Linked DNA regions of Homo sapiens: regions 1, 3, 4 and 5 are each linked to region 2. Evidence: promoter capture Hi-C in 16 types of primary human blood cells and fetal thymus (Javierre and others, 2016). All regions are on one chromosome and are shown on one strand. Each heading gives the region's core, a stretch centred on a gene start or on the middle of the fragment in contact. The rest is flanking DNA. Distances are from core to core; before and after follow the strand shown.

What was found. Contacts are between HindIII fragments. The CHiCAGO score rates a contact against its expected background, and 5 or more counts as called.
Region 1: a fragment that was not itself captured here is called in contact with the fragment with the promoter of MYO1A in region 2 in 3 of 17 cell types (erythroblasts, M2 macrophages and M0 macrophages); the score reaches 7.7 in erythroblasts.
Region 3: a fragment that was not itself captured here is called in contact with the fragment with the promoter of MYO1A in region 2 in 1 of 17 cell types (M0 macrophages); the score reaches 5.1 in M0 macrophages.
Region 4: a fragment that was not itself captured here is called in contact with the fragment with the promoter of MYO1A in region 2 in 2 of 17 cell types (erythroblasts and naive CD8 T cells); the score reaches 6.3 in erythroblasts.
Region 5: a fragment that was not itself captured here is called in contact with the fragment with the promoter of MYO1A in region 2 in 4 of 17 cell types (M2 macrophages, erythroblasts, M0 macrophages and 1 more); the score reaches 6.6 in M2 macrophages.

Annotation. Positions count from the first base shown.
Region 1 is chr12:56,804,677-56,807,376 of GRCh38, reverse strand. No RefSeq gene overlaps it. Among named protein-coding and RNA genes, the nearest start is that of HSD17B6, 43 kb to the right of the region's middle. RefSeq lists an enhancer at 2,058-2,700. The HindIII fragment of the contact is 383 bases long and covers 1,167-1,549 here.
Region 2 is chr12:57,048,777-57,051,476 of GRCh38, reverse strand. It overlaps MYO1A (myosin IA), which reads left to right and starts at 1,348. Exons shown (of 28, transcript NM_005379.4): 1 at 1,348-1,590. The HindIII fragment of the contact is 12,080 bases long and covers 1-2,700 here.
Region 3 is chr12:56,839,470-56,842,169 of GRCh38, reverse strand. No RefSeq gene overlaps it. Among named protein-coding and RNA genes, the nearest start is that of HSD17B6, 77 kb to the right of the region's middle. The HindIII fragment of the contact is 725 bases long and covers 1,052-1,776 here.
Region 4 is chr12:57,189,681-57,192,380 of GRCh38, reverse strand. LRP1 (LDL receptor related protein 1) reads right to left here. Exons shown (of 89, transcript NM_002332.3): 43 at 1,372-1,576; 44 at 869-1,061. Among named protein-coding and RNA genes, the nearest start is that of MIR1228, 3.5 kb to the left of the region's middle. The HindIII fragment of the contact is 5,411 bases long and covers 1-2,700 here.
Region 5 is chr12:56,823,270-56,825,969 of GRCh38, reverse strand. No RefSeq gene overlaps it. Among named protein-coding and RNA genes, the nearest start is that of HSD17B6, 61 kb to the right of the region's middle. The HindIII fragment of the contact is 1,687 bases long and covers 545-2,231 here.

The DNA.
Region 1 (2,700 bases), core at 109-2,608, 240 kb after region 2:
TCCACCTCCCAGGTTCACACCATTCTCCTGCCTCAGCCTCCTGAGTATCTGGGACTACAGGTGCCCACCACCATGCCCGGCTAATTTTTTGTATTTTTAGTAGAGACAGGGTTTCACCATGTTAGCCAGGATGGTCTCGATCTCCTGACCTCATGATCCACCTGCCTCAGCTTCCCAAAGTGCTGGGATTACAGGCGTGAGTCACTGTGCCTGGCCAATGAGCTTTATATCTTATATAGGACCAGGAAAGGGTATGAGACTTATCTGATTGGAAAAATAGCAGTACCATTGGAGGTTGAAAATTGGACCCCAATGATGAAATAGGAGAATAGAAGAGGAAACACTTTCAGGTGTGTATACCGGAGGGCTTATGAAGGACAAGGACTAAGGCCCTGAATTACACCAACCTATTCATGGTAGAATAGGGATTTGATGAGAATCCCACTGGCTTCCTGGAAAGGCTAAGAGGGAGGGGCCTTGGTAAAACACACCTCTCTATCTCCTGATTCAGTAGCAGAATAGCTGGTCCTAGGCACTGACTTTATCACACAGGTGGCCCCTGATGTCAGGAGGGGGCAGCAGAAACGGGCTGTGGGACCAGATGGTACTTTGGAGGGCTTCCTGGTAGGAGCCACGTTGGTCTTTTGCAGTGGGAACTGGGAGGAAGTCCAGAAAAGAGGGGAGATACAGGAAAAAGGCAGAGGCTCTAATAGCTGCTCTGTGGGCTCATGGACCCCAGAGTCCCTGATATGCACCTGTTGACTACTGCAAATGTGGCAGGCCAGGTCATTTTAGGAGGGACTGTCTGGACAGTGTGGGGAGGCCACCTCGACCCTGTCCAGTTTGTGATGAGGACAATTAGAGGGCGGACTATCCCTGGAGACACGGGTCACCCGGTCCAGGGCCGGCCTCCCTTATAGTGCAGCGGGACTGACAGGCTCTGGGGCTCCTCTCCCCAGCTCCGGTTGTTCAGACTACCATTGCCACCCAGGAGCCCCAGGTGATTCTGGGCATCAAGGGAAGGAGGGTTGACCTCCTTCTGGACTCTGGAGCAGGTCTTTCAGTTCTCCTCTTCAATCTAGGCCCTCCTCCTCCTTTGGCACAACCGTGAGGGGCATCTCAGGTCTCCTTCTGCCACTGTCATAGTCCTGTGAATACAGGAAGCTTTTTCTTGCAACAGGTTAGCTTTTTTTCCTTTCAGGAGGCACCTTATTAGGCCAGGTCCCCAATTCCTGGGACTCCCATTCTCTCCCTTGTTTGAGGAGGAACTGGTCCCACAGCTTCACCTGCTTATGATAGGGAGGCAACAGAGGAGCAGCCCCAGCCAGTTGCTAGCTGCAATTTGGTGAGGGCTGCCTGGGACTAATTTAATGGGCCCATACACCCTCTTGAGGCACCTTTTTGTCCCAAGGTTTCTGATAATTTTGGAGATTGTGAACAGGAGTTTCTTTGAGTGAACGGAACTAACAGAAGACTGAAGTAATCTTTTTTGACATTTTGCTTGAACCATTGATGATCCTTCGTTTTGTTTTTCAGAATCAAGGAAGCTTTCCTTTTGAGATATTTGTAGCTTTTGACAGTTGTGAGGGTGAACCAACCAGTGATCTCTGACTGCAGCTCAGAAGAAACAAAAAGGATGGGCCGTCAAACTCCAATGGTCATGCAAATGGAGCCTCGGACAATGGCTCCCTTTTACTGGAGACCCTTATATAGGCCCCTGAGAGAAAACCTGACTGCCATTTTCCCAAAAACAATGCCCCCTGTCAGCATGAAGCAGTTAAGAATGGTCACTGTCCCTATCCTAACGGCAGTTAGATGTACCTCTACAGAGTGGTGATTGATGGCAGTGGTGGGCCATCTAGAGTGGCCGCTGCCATCACACAGGCTGCAGCAGGGAGGTACAGCCAGAGCTGTATACTCCATGCAGCTGGTGGGAGCCTCAGACAAGTGGGAGCCCTGCCCCTTCTGATTTGTTAGGGTGGGAGCTCCCCAGGTGCAGACACAAGTCTGCCCAAGTTATGGCTGCAAACTGGGCCTCCCAAAGCACAGAGCAAGAAGAAGCCCCACCCCCTGGGGCACAGGTTAAGCTGCCCAAGTCATGGCTGCAGACCCAGGCCTCCCTGTGCTCTTGGGGGTGCTGGGAGCAGGGAGGAGCCCTGTCCTCCTAGGCGTGGCTGCAGCCACCCAAGTCGTGACTGCAGAGCATGACCTCCCACTCCACAGAGCAGGACCCCCACCCCCTGGATGCAGCTGCAGACACCCAAACTGTGGCTGTGAACCCAGGCATCCCTGCACTCTTGGAGACCCAGGATGGTCCTCTCCCCCTGCCCTCACAGGCTTGGAAGTGCCTGCTCCTGCCGCCTGGCTTCTCCCTGCTGTCGGTACCCACTCCGATCTAAGAGCAAAGTCATGGTCAAGCCTGAGCTCTGTCACAGCCCAGCCAGGTGTGTACATGCTCAGGGAAGTGTTGACACACCAGCCCCCTGCCACTTCAGCCCGCCTCTGGACCTTGGGTGCCAAAGAGCACAGGAGGGAAGCTGAGGGGGTGATAAGGGCAGTTTGGCACTGGCCTGCAGGTGCCCCTTGGCACGTACAGCCTGGGTGCCATGAATGGCAGCAGGAGGCAGACAGGTTCCTGGGGGGAAGGGAGTGGGTCCCACGTGAGGCCCCACCTTCAGGCCAGGGAGGGCCTGAAGGCTG
Region 2 (2,700 bases), core at 99-2,598:
TGTGACCCTGGAAAAGTGGTTTTCTCACTCTAGATCTGTTTCCTCCACTGGTAAATAGGTGATATTTGTCACTTCTGCCTCTAGGACATGGATACTGCTCCACCTACACATAGCATTATGTTTTGATGTCACTTCCACTCAGCTTTCTCTCTTTTCCTTGCCCCCCTCCACCTTCAAATATATGTAGTAGATCAATAAATTATGTAAAGGCAGGTTGATAATAGAACTGCTGATGTGCCAGGCTTACGCAGAGTGCTTCTGTGAGAGCCATAGAGTTTGGACCTTGCACCAAGCAGCCATAGCTGAGAGTTGGAGAATCAAGTCTCTCTTCAGTTAAGTGTCTATAATTACCTAATTTGTTCTTTCTGCATGCCTGGGAGAGAGGATGGTAGGCAGAGGGGGCTTGCTGTTTTTAGGAATTTTCCTGGCTGGATGAAGGGGTACTTCTTATCTATCAGAGGGAGCTATTACATTAGCTCAGGGTCTTACTCAGTATCCTAGTGCTGACGAATTAAAATTAGAAACTTCAGAACTTGGGCTGCAACTTTTGGCAAACTTAGGGAGCTGCATTCTGTTCCTGGTTCTGCCATGCACTAGCATGGAACTGTGGGCACATTGTGTAACCTCTCTGAGTCTGGTGTTTGTTCCTAGTTTTCCATTTTAATGGAGTATCTGTATTGCCTTCCTCGGGGTGGTGCTATTCAGTGAGGCAATGCAAGGGGGAGTTCAATGAAACTGGGACATCTATACACATGTGAGGTATTATTACTAATCACTTTAATCTTTGGGTCTCTATGATAGGGTCTGATTCATGGGGGAAGGGAAGTGGAGAAGAATTTGGGGATTTTGTCTGCTTAGCTCTCCAAGTAATCTCATTAACATCCCCTGACTCCCGATAAGATAGGAAGAGTAGGTATGAGGGAGGTACTGTTTTTTTGCTAGGAAGACACTCTTTGTAAAGACGTGTCTCGCCATGTTGCCTAGGCTGGTCTCGAACTCCTGGGCTCAAGTGATCCTCCCGCCTTGGCCTCCCAAAGTGCTGGGAGTATAGGCATGAGCAACCGCACTTGGCCCTACCTGTCCTTGACAAAATTCCTGACTTCTCTTTGGGAAATATTTTCCTTGGCTATAAATTCCATTCTTCCAGCTTTCATTTCCAAATTTGGGAGACAATGGAGCAAGAACCCTCCTTTAGTTAAGCCTCTCAGCTAACGCCAGCCAGATACCCTTTCCTACCTAGAGGGAGCTTGAGTGTCTCCCTCTGGGGCTTCAGGCCTGTGAAGGGTTAAGTGAGCCACACCCTCAGCAGGAACAGTCTGGACTTTGTGCTGATCAGCCATCTCCGGCCTCTCCTGGTTTGACTGGCACAGGGAGCCTGGGCTGGAAGAGGCAGCAAAAGGGAAAATCAGAAGAGTGGACACTGGCAAGAGGAGGGCAGCCTTTTTCCCAGCTTCCTTGCACCATGGACAGCTCCCATTAAGCCACCTCTCCATCCTGGGGCCAGGACTCTTATGCCCCATTCCTGTCAAATTGAGATTTCATCCACCATTCTCCAAGGACAGTGAAGTTATACCCTAGTTCCAGTGTTGGGTGAGTCCTGCCTTGACCTGTCACTGCTTCTCTTTAACACCTTGGGGCGCCCCATCTGGGGCCTCTTGCCTTTTTCCCTTCCCCACCCTCAACCAGTCACATTCCCACTCCCTTCAAATCCAAATCCAAAGAAGATGACTGCTCCCAACCCACCTTCTGCTTCTCACCCTTCCCTGCCAAGTTAGTTAAAAGACTTAGCTTTTTGTAAAATCTAGAAAATACAAAAATAGTATCTACTTCATGGGGATATTGTAAGCACTAAATGAATTAGTGTATGTACAGTGCTTAGAGCCCTGCCCAGTTCGTGGTAAACGCTGCATGATTCCTAGAGACTGCTATTATTGATATTCTTATTGCTTCCTCAGTTGTGTCCTTCTGGTAAGTGACAAGTGCTCTCTTTTCCTAGAGCTTGGGGAAAGCCAAGTGAAGGGAGAAGGAAGCCTGTGCCCCTTCTTGCCCCACTTCCGTTCCTCCTTCCTCCGCTCCTCCACCCGGGTTCAGAGATGCAATAGCATAGGAGGATGTGTCTCTTTCATTCCTGTTCAGGAGTGGCCTTGACCATTGTACTAATAATCCTGTCCTGTGCCTGGCCACTCTGCCTACTCAGTCTCACAGGAAAGACTGAGGAGGGCCAGGTTTCCTCCTTAGGGAACACCTGCCATGTGCCTACTGCATGGGGGCCAAGCCCCACCACCCTCCCTGTAGTTCCAACTGTGCTCCTCCTTGCCCACTCCCGCAAGAAGCTAGGTGTGTCCCTCTGGGGCAAAGTCCATGCCAGAAGTTTACAGGAGTGGGTGTAAAAGCTAGAGATGGAAAAATAGAGACAGACATGTAGCACATCCAGAGGTCCTGACAACTGCCTGTTTGTTGGGGAAGCAAACCCCACTTTCATTTTCTTTGGGAAATTCCAATCTCTTATGGAGGAATCCTGCCTCTATCCTCTATAATTCTGCCTTGTCAAGTTCCCATTTTAAAAATGAAGCTCACTGTAGCAATGACAGGGAAGGAGAGACCTTTGGAAGAACTTCTGAAATGGTTATGGGTAGGTTGGGTGTCTTTAATAGGGGCTGTGAGAGGTAAGGTGTTGAGAAGAAGCACTGGGGGTAGATG
Region 3 (2,700 bases), core at 165-2,664, 210 kb after region 2:
AATTCCTTAAAGACCTAAAGACAGAACTACCATTCAACCCAGAAATCCCATTACTGGGTATATACCCAAAGGAATGTAAGTTACTCTATCATAAAGACACATACATGCATATGTTCATTCCAGCACTATTCACAATAGCAAAGAGATGGAATCAACCTAAATGCCCATCAATGATAGACTGGATAAAGAATGTGGTACATAAACACAATGGAATACTATGTAGCCATTCAAAAGAATGAAATCACGTCCTTTGCAGGGACATGGATGGAATTGGAGGTCATTATCCTTAGCAGACTAATGCAGGAACAGAAAACCAAATACTACATGTTCTCATTTATAAGTGGAAGCTAAATGATGAGAACACATGGATATATAGAGGGGAACAATGAACACTGGGGTCTATCAGAGGGTTGAGGGTGGGGATAGGGAGAGGATCAAGAAAAATAACTAATGGGTACTAGCCTTAATACCTGGGTGATGAAATAATCTACACAACAAACCCCATGATACACGTTTACCTATGTAACAATCCTTCACGTGTACCCCGATCTTAAAATAAATGTTAAAAAAAGAAACCTTTCTTCTTTTCTAATATAGGCATTTAGTGTTATAAATTTCTCTCTAAGCACAGCTTAGCCCCACTCCACAAACTTTAATGTACCACATTTTCATTTTCACTCAGTTGAAATATATTCTAATTTTTCTTTGTATTTCTTTTTTAATCCATGCATGTATCATTTAGCCAAATATTTTGTAATTTTCCAACTACTGGGAGATTTTTTGGATACTTTTCTGTTATTTATTCCTAATTTAATTCCATTGTGGTCAGAGAACATACTTTTTAAGGTTTAGAAGATTTTCTTTCTTTCCCAAGGTGAAGGAGAGACCCCTGCCATGGGACTCTCCCTGATAGCCCTCGTGGGCCTGTACTACCTTCTGCGCTGGTAGTGGGAGAGACAGGTGGTGAGCCTCCCTTGAGATAACTGCTTCATCATGGGCTGTGACTCGGGCTTCGGGAATCTGCTGGCAAGACAGCTGGATACGCAAAGCTTGAGGGTGCTGGCTATGTGTCTGATGGAGAAGGAGGCAGAGCAGCTGAGGGGCCAGACTTCAGACAGGCTGGAGACGGTGACCCTGGACATCACCAAGACAGAGAATATCGCTGCAGCCACCCAGGGAGTGAAGGATGCATGGGGGACAGAGTACAGTGCAGGGGATGGATGGCGGGGGCAGTGGGGGAGTCTGTCCTTCAGACAAATTGCTTTGTCCTCAATGTCTCTGGTTAGCCAGATAATGTTCCAGGTACAAAATATTAGGGGTTAGCTTAGGCATATACTGGGGATGTGTTTTCATTGCTGACAGATACATTATGAATGATGACTGTTCTTAGGACTGACAAATACAAGCATTTTTATGAGAACAGTGAATGAATGCTTGGAATCAAGATTGCTCTGAAATATTCAGGTTGTGTGGTACGTGTATATATCTGGGTAGAAGGAGGGAATGAATGAAAGATAGGGAGGTATAGATAATAAAGGTATAGAAACTGGTATAGAAAGCAAACTGCAAGAACAGTGGCCCTCAAAAATCCAGGGCATGAAAATGCTAACTTAGTAAATAAGAGGTGCTTATTCTTTTTCACTCTTATTTGGAGAAACTTACTTCACAAAAGGATTCTTAGCTGCATCCTTTAAAGCAGGAGGTAATTACACTGTCTACATTTTATTTTGCCTTACTGAGGGTGGATCACTTGTGTAAATCAGTGTTTTCCAAGCTTACTTAATCATAAGATGAGAAAGACCTGATTAATCGAGGGGGATTCTTAATAAGTTTTATTATTCAAAAAGTACCCCTAGCTGAGTCTTAGTATGAGGCAATCAAATCACATCTATATTCTGATCACTAAGGCATGGTCTGTGTTTTTCTAGGTGTTGTTTTCCTACCATCAGTTGTAAGCTAGAGTTTTTGAAGCAGCCCAGGGAATTGGCAGAAACTTTGTGAGCCTAACCAAAGACTGTAAGACAAGAGCCAAATTTCAATGATTGCTGGAGAAACTCCAAAGCAGGCCATTTGGGGCCCTCTGGTGGCTGGGGGGTACACCGAGCAGGACAGCAGGACCAGCTGCAGCTGAGTTCCAACATGCCATTTTACACATTCCCTTGACTTATCATGGCAGATCTTGACTCTCATCCTTGCATCAATGTGGCACAGGCCTCAGGGCCAGCTGGCATCCTACACAAGTCCTCTGAGGGGTGAGGGACAGAAAACCCCACAGGGAGAGGCTGAAGCCAAAAGGTCTCCTAATCAGCCTGAGGCACCAGGAATAAACTTAAGGTCCAACAAAGTCAGGTCTTTTGTCCTATTGCCATGAGGAAGACTGCATACCAGGGGACTCATGGGTTGTCTGATCAAAGGAAAAGAGAATTATTATAGGATATGGAGATGAAGCAATTTCTTGATAGACTCCAAGCAAAGCAGGGCTCTGTGAAAAGAGATCAACTCCAGGTCTGGATTACAAAATGGTCCCAAGGTCTTGTTTCATTAGAAAGCACAGTTTAGATGTGAAATGTTTCCAGCAACCCCTATCTAAAGTTCTGCACCTGGGTTATATAATGAGGCTGCTTCTGTGTCAAAGTGACTCAGGCAAGGGTGGGATATTCATTTTTATGATATAATTTTTTTAGACATGAGGTTTTGCTT
Region 4 (2,700 bases), core at 88-2,587, 140 kb before region 2:
GAGGGCATGGATGAGCCCTGAGGGGCGGGTGTGACATGAATGTGTGTGTGCAACGTGGAGGAGATGCCAGGCGTGTGCAGAGTCCATCTGTGTGCGTAGATGCCTTGGTGGGAAGGGGTACAGGAGCACTGGGGGTTTTGCGGTTCCAAAGGTGTGTACAGCTGTGTGTGTCTGTGTAATGGAGGCCCAGGGAGAGCAGGACCAGGCAAGTGTGTGTGGGGTGTGGTGTGTGGGGTGTGGGGTGTTTATAGTATGTCTGTGAGATGTGTGTGTGTGTGTGTGGCATGTTTGTGGTACGTGTGGTGTGTGGTGTGTGTGTGTGCTGTGTGGTGTGTGTGTGATGTGTGTTGTGGGTGGTAGGTGTGTGGCATGTGTATGTGTGTCCTATGTGTGGTGTGTATGTGTCATGTGTGGTGTGTGTATGTGGTGTGTGTATGTGGTGTGTGTGTGGTATGTGTAGTGTGTGTGGTGGTGTGTGTATGTGGTATGTGTGGGGTGTGTGTGGTATGTGTGGTGTGTATGTGGTGTGTGGTGTGTGTGTGGTATGTGTGTGGTGTGGTATATGTGGGGTGTGCATGTGATATGTGTGGTGTGTGTATGTGGGGTGTGTATGTGTGTGTATGTGTTGGGGGTGTATGTGTATGTGGTGTGTGGGGGGTGTGTATGGTGTGGTGTGTATGTGTTGAGTGTGTGGGAGGGGTGTGGTGTGTGTATGTGGTGTGGTGTGTGTAGTGTAGTATGTGTGGGATGTGTGTGTGTGGTATGTGTAGGGTGCGTGTGGTATGTGCGATGTGTGTGTGGGGTGTGTGTTTGTATGTCCATGCACGACAGGCAGGAGGGTGAGGCAGCTGGCGGCAGCCCCACTCACAGCTGTTGGTGTCGTTGGCCACGGCGATGATGCCCATGGGCTGCTGGGGGATGTCCACGCGCAGCAGCTTCATGTTGCTGCCCACGTGCTTGTTGGCCCGCTGCACTGCCCGCCGCACCCAGTCAGTCCAGAAAATGTGCTCCCCATACACGGCCAGCCCGAAGGGGTGGACAGGCTCTGACTTTAGGATCACCTGTGGAGACAGCACCATCACCGTCACAGCATCGCTCAGGCCTCTTGCCCAGTCTCCACCGGACCACAGCCTGGCCTGGCCTCTGACAGCTACAGAATGAGGGCCCGCAGAGGCATCCTGCTATCTCCCTCGTCTAGCTGATGAGGAGCAAGCTGGACAGGGTGGGGTTGACCGAGGCTGGGGCCTGGAGGCACTCACCTCCTCCCAGCTGTTCCCACCATGTCTGTGCCTGGACGGTCTTGGTTGACGGCTGACCCTGGCCCTGGCCTCCCCTCAGCCGCCCGCCAGCTCACCCACCCCGCAGACTCACATAGCGGTGGGAGCCGTCATACTCGCACCGCTCGATCTTGTCCAGGGTGGCGTCAGAGAAGTAGAGCTTCTCGGCACGGTGGTCGATGGCCAGGCCATTGGGGGTACGGATGTCCTTCTCGATAAGGGTCAGGACATTGGCTCCCGAGAGCGCCGCCCGCATGATGCTGGGATGCTGCTCATTCCAGTTGGTCCAGAACATGAGGCTGGGGGAAGAGGGTCCAGAGATCAGGAGGCAAAGCCTGAGAATCCACAACAGAGGGCACAGGCCAGGACGCGTAGGCACCTGGAACCTGGAAGCCTGCCAGGGCAAAGCCACCCCAGAGCCATAGAGGCCAGCAGTGCCCCAATGCCCAGGAAGGGCCCCACTATTGCACAGACAGTTCACACACGAGGTGGCTGAGTGTGAGGGGATGAGGGCCAAGTGTGAGATATTCACATTGCAGTATCTGGGCAGTGACCGTCTACTTGCTGAGAAGAGAGCCGGTGCAGCCAAGTGAGACAGGCCCTGGGGTTCCAGCCCTGGCTCCACCACCCACCAGCTAGGTGCCCTTAGGCAACTTACTCAACTGCCCTGTGCCTCAGTTTCCTCCTCTATGAGGTGGGGATGGTAGCACCACCTGCCTCGCAGGATGTGAGAGTGGAAGAAGTTAATCTCCATCTTAAGGACAGATGGCACACACTATGTGAGTATTTCCCAGGAGTTTATTCTTAACTGCTCTCTTCTGTGCAGGGAGGCTGGCTGTCTTCCAGATCATTCAGGAAGCCCTTGTGGAGCTGAGTGTGGCATGTGTCCCAGGTCCTGGGGTATGTGGGTCCTATCCTCAAGCAGCTCTCAAGAGTCCCCTTCTCCGTACTTTGAGGCCTTTGCATGTTTGGGGTTGGAGCCACCGTTCTGCCTCGTAACGGCTCCAACTTTGAATGAGCCTGTCGCCCCTCTGAGCCCTGGTTTCCTCTCAGTAAAGGAGGCAATGGGAACAGCCAGCCCCCAATTATGCCGTGCTCCTTGTGGGGTGGTGCTGAGGCTGGAGGGGGGCTGTGGAAGGCCTCAGGGCTGGTCATGCACTACCCTGGGTGTGACAGAGTGGTCCTTGGACCACCGGCATTGGATGGTGAGCCCTGGGTCCTCGGTCCCAGAGCTTGTCACTCAGCTAGGCCCAGGGCGGGGCAGGGGACTCCACATTCTCTTGCTCCTAGGCGATCCTTAGGCACAGTGGAGTCTGAGACCACCAAGCCACACAAAAGCCAGCTCCGTTCTCCAGTTCCCTAACAGGACCTGCCCCCGCCCCCACCCCAGTGCCTCTGGCCTCCTCCTACCTCTGCCCCTCAC
Region 5 (2,700 bases), core at 139-2,638, 230 kb after region 2:
GAAATAAACCCTTGCATATATGGTCAAATGATTTTTAACGAGGGTGCCAAGACCATTCAATGGGGAAAGGACAATCTTTTCAACAAATGGTAACGGGAAAACTGAATATTCACCTGCAAAAGAATGAAGTTAGACCTGTACCTTACACTATATGCAAAAATTAACTCAAAATAGATCAAAGACCTAAATTTAAGAACTAAAACTATAAAACTCCTAGAAGAAAATACAGGGAGATGGCCGAGTGTGGTGGCTCACACATGTAGTCCCAACACTTTGGGAGGCCACAGCAGGTGGATCACTTGAGCCCAGGAATTGGAGACCTGCCTGGGCAACATGGCAAGACCCCATCTCTACAAAAAATACAAAAATTAGCCAGGCATGGTGGCATGCACCTGTAGTTCCAGCTACTAGGGAGGCTGAGGAGGGAGGATTGTTTGAGCCCAGGAGGCAGAGGTTGCAGTGAGCTCTGATCATGCCACTGCACTCCAACCTGGGCAACAGAGCAAGACCCTGTCTCAAAAAACAAAAAAACAGGGAGAAAGCTTCATGACGTTGGATTTGGCAGTGATTTCTTGGATATGACACTGAAAGCACAGGCAACAAGAGGAAAAAAAATGGACACATTGGACTACATCAAAATTAGAAACTTCTGTCCACTCCTGAATTTTTGTTAATATATTTTGCTGCCGAAACAAAGAGTTTGCAGGTTTGGTATACCCTCTGATAGTGGGGGCATATTGACAGCTGCTATGTCCATCACAAACACATGCCTTCCTCTGCAAAAGAGTAACTGTGCAGCCAATTATCCTCAAATGACATGAACTTCTTCCTCGACATTTCTCCCTTAAATTTCCAGGGAAGATTTTGATTTATTTACTTAACAAAACAACCCTCGCAAATTTACCAGGTGGTTGAAAAATAATTATAATAGTAATAATAGGCCAAGTGCAGTGGCTCACACCTGTACTCCCAACACTTTGAGAGGCCAAGGCAGGAGGATCCCTAGAGCCCTGAAGTTTGAGACCAGCCTGGGCAACAGAGGGAGACACCATCTCTATAAAAAAAATTTTAAATTAGTCAGATGTGGTAGTACACCTGTAGTCCCATCTGCTCAGGAGGCTGAGGTGAGCAGATCACTTAAGCCCAGGAGTTTGAGGCTGCAGTGAGCTGTGATCGCCACTGCTGCACTGAAGCCTGGATGACTCTGCCTCTAAAAAAAAAAAAATTAATAGTAATAAGAAAATAATATTATAATGGACACTATCACAAAAGGCAAATACCTTAAACTATTCCTGCAGTGTTGTTTTGTCCAGGCCGAAACCAAAACTGGAGCCCCAAAGTCTGTAGCAGGGAAATTCCCAAGAAGGATTATCTGTAAACCATTTGGAGATGGGGCTGGTTGAGATTCCAAAGAGAGAAGCACTAAACACCAGGGTAATTAGTCTAAAGTATTTATCAGGGGAACTTACTTACAAAAGGGGCTGCAGGAATCCTCTCAACAGCAAGCGAAAGAGATGTTCCACCTAGCTATGTCTGCAATAAGGGGGTTGTGTTATGGAGTTTATATGAGGGTTTGAGGAGTTTGGTTAAGGGCTGGGGCTAGTTTCTTTCAGTGTTCTGGACAACAACCTAAACATGTTTACCAGAGCCTGGGAATGTTCAAGGACCTGACTTAACCCTGCAAAAAAACATGCAACTGGCCAGGTCACAGAGTGGTCAAGGCACTCTGTATTTCTTAGTCGGGATAGATAAAAAGGTTGGGAAAACTAGAGGACCCTATGAATGTATTAGCCAAATAGTATTTGATCAAAAGCATAAATGAAAATTGATGATCCCAAGCATTCATGTGGGAAATCAACTTTTTTTCCTAGAGCTTATCCAATAGTCTAGACAAAATTCTATTTCTGTAAAAAGTAATCAACTTATAAGATGTAGCTAAAAGAGTAATGATCAATATTGTTTCAGATTGCCTAGCACATTTTCTCATGTTCCAAATACAGATCTCTGTGTCCTCCCAGTTCACTCTCATCCAACCCAGCCCCCCCCCATGTCATTTAAACAAGGAAAAGATATGACTTTGCTTTTATTATCTAGGTTAGACAAAATGTTCCCTGAGTTTCCATCAAGTTTTAATTTTGCCAAAGAAATATAATCACAGTTTTCTTAAAAGCCTGTCCCAAGTAGTCATGCCTCTATCTCTGAATTTATTGGCTATCCGGTTATCTTAAGCTTTAACCAGCACAAGTTTCTTTGACGAATTCTTACTTGCATTTAGAAAGGTCATGTTCTTCAGTTTCTGGAGATTGCCTTGAGCTGAGAACAGGCTCCATCAAAGGTCATGGATGGCAGAATGGGCTGGCCATGAAAGACCTCTGAACTCCAGTGGAAAAGCAGATGGAACTTGGAAAGTAAACTAAGGCTACCTCAAAACAACGGCCTTTGTCTTAGGGCAGGCAAGTCAATAGATTATATGAAAATTGTTCTGGGCCGGGCACGGTGGCTCAGGCCTGTAATCCCAGCACTTTGGGAGGCTGAGGCAGGTGGATCACCTGAGATCAGGAGTTCGAGACCAGCCTGGCCAACATGGTGAAACCCCATCTCTACTAATAATACAAAAACTAGCTGGGCGTGGTGGCACACGCCTGTAATCCCAGATACTCGGGAGGCTGAGGCAAGAGGATTGCTTGAACCTGGGAGGTG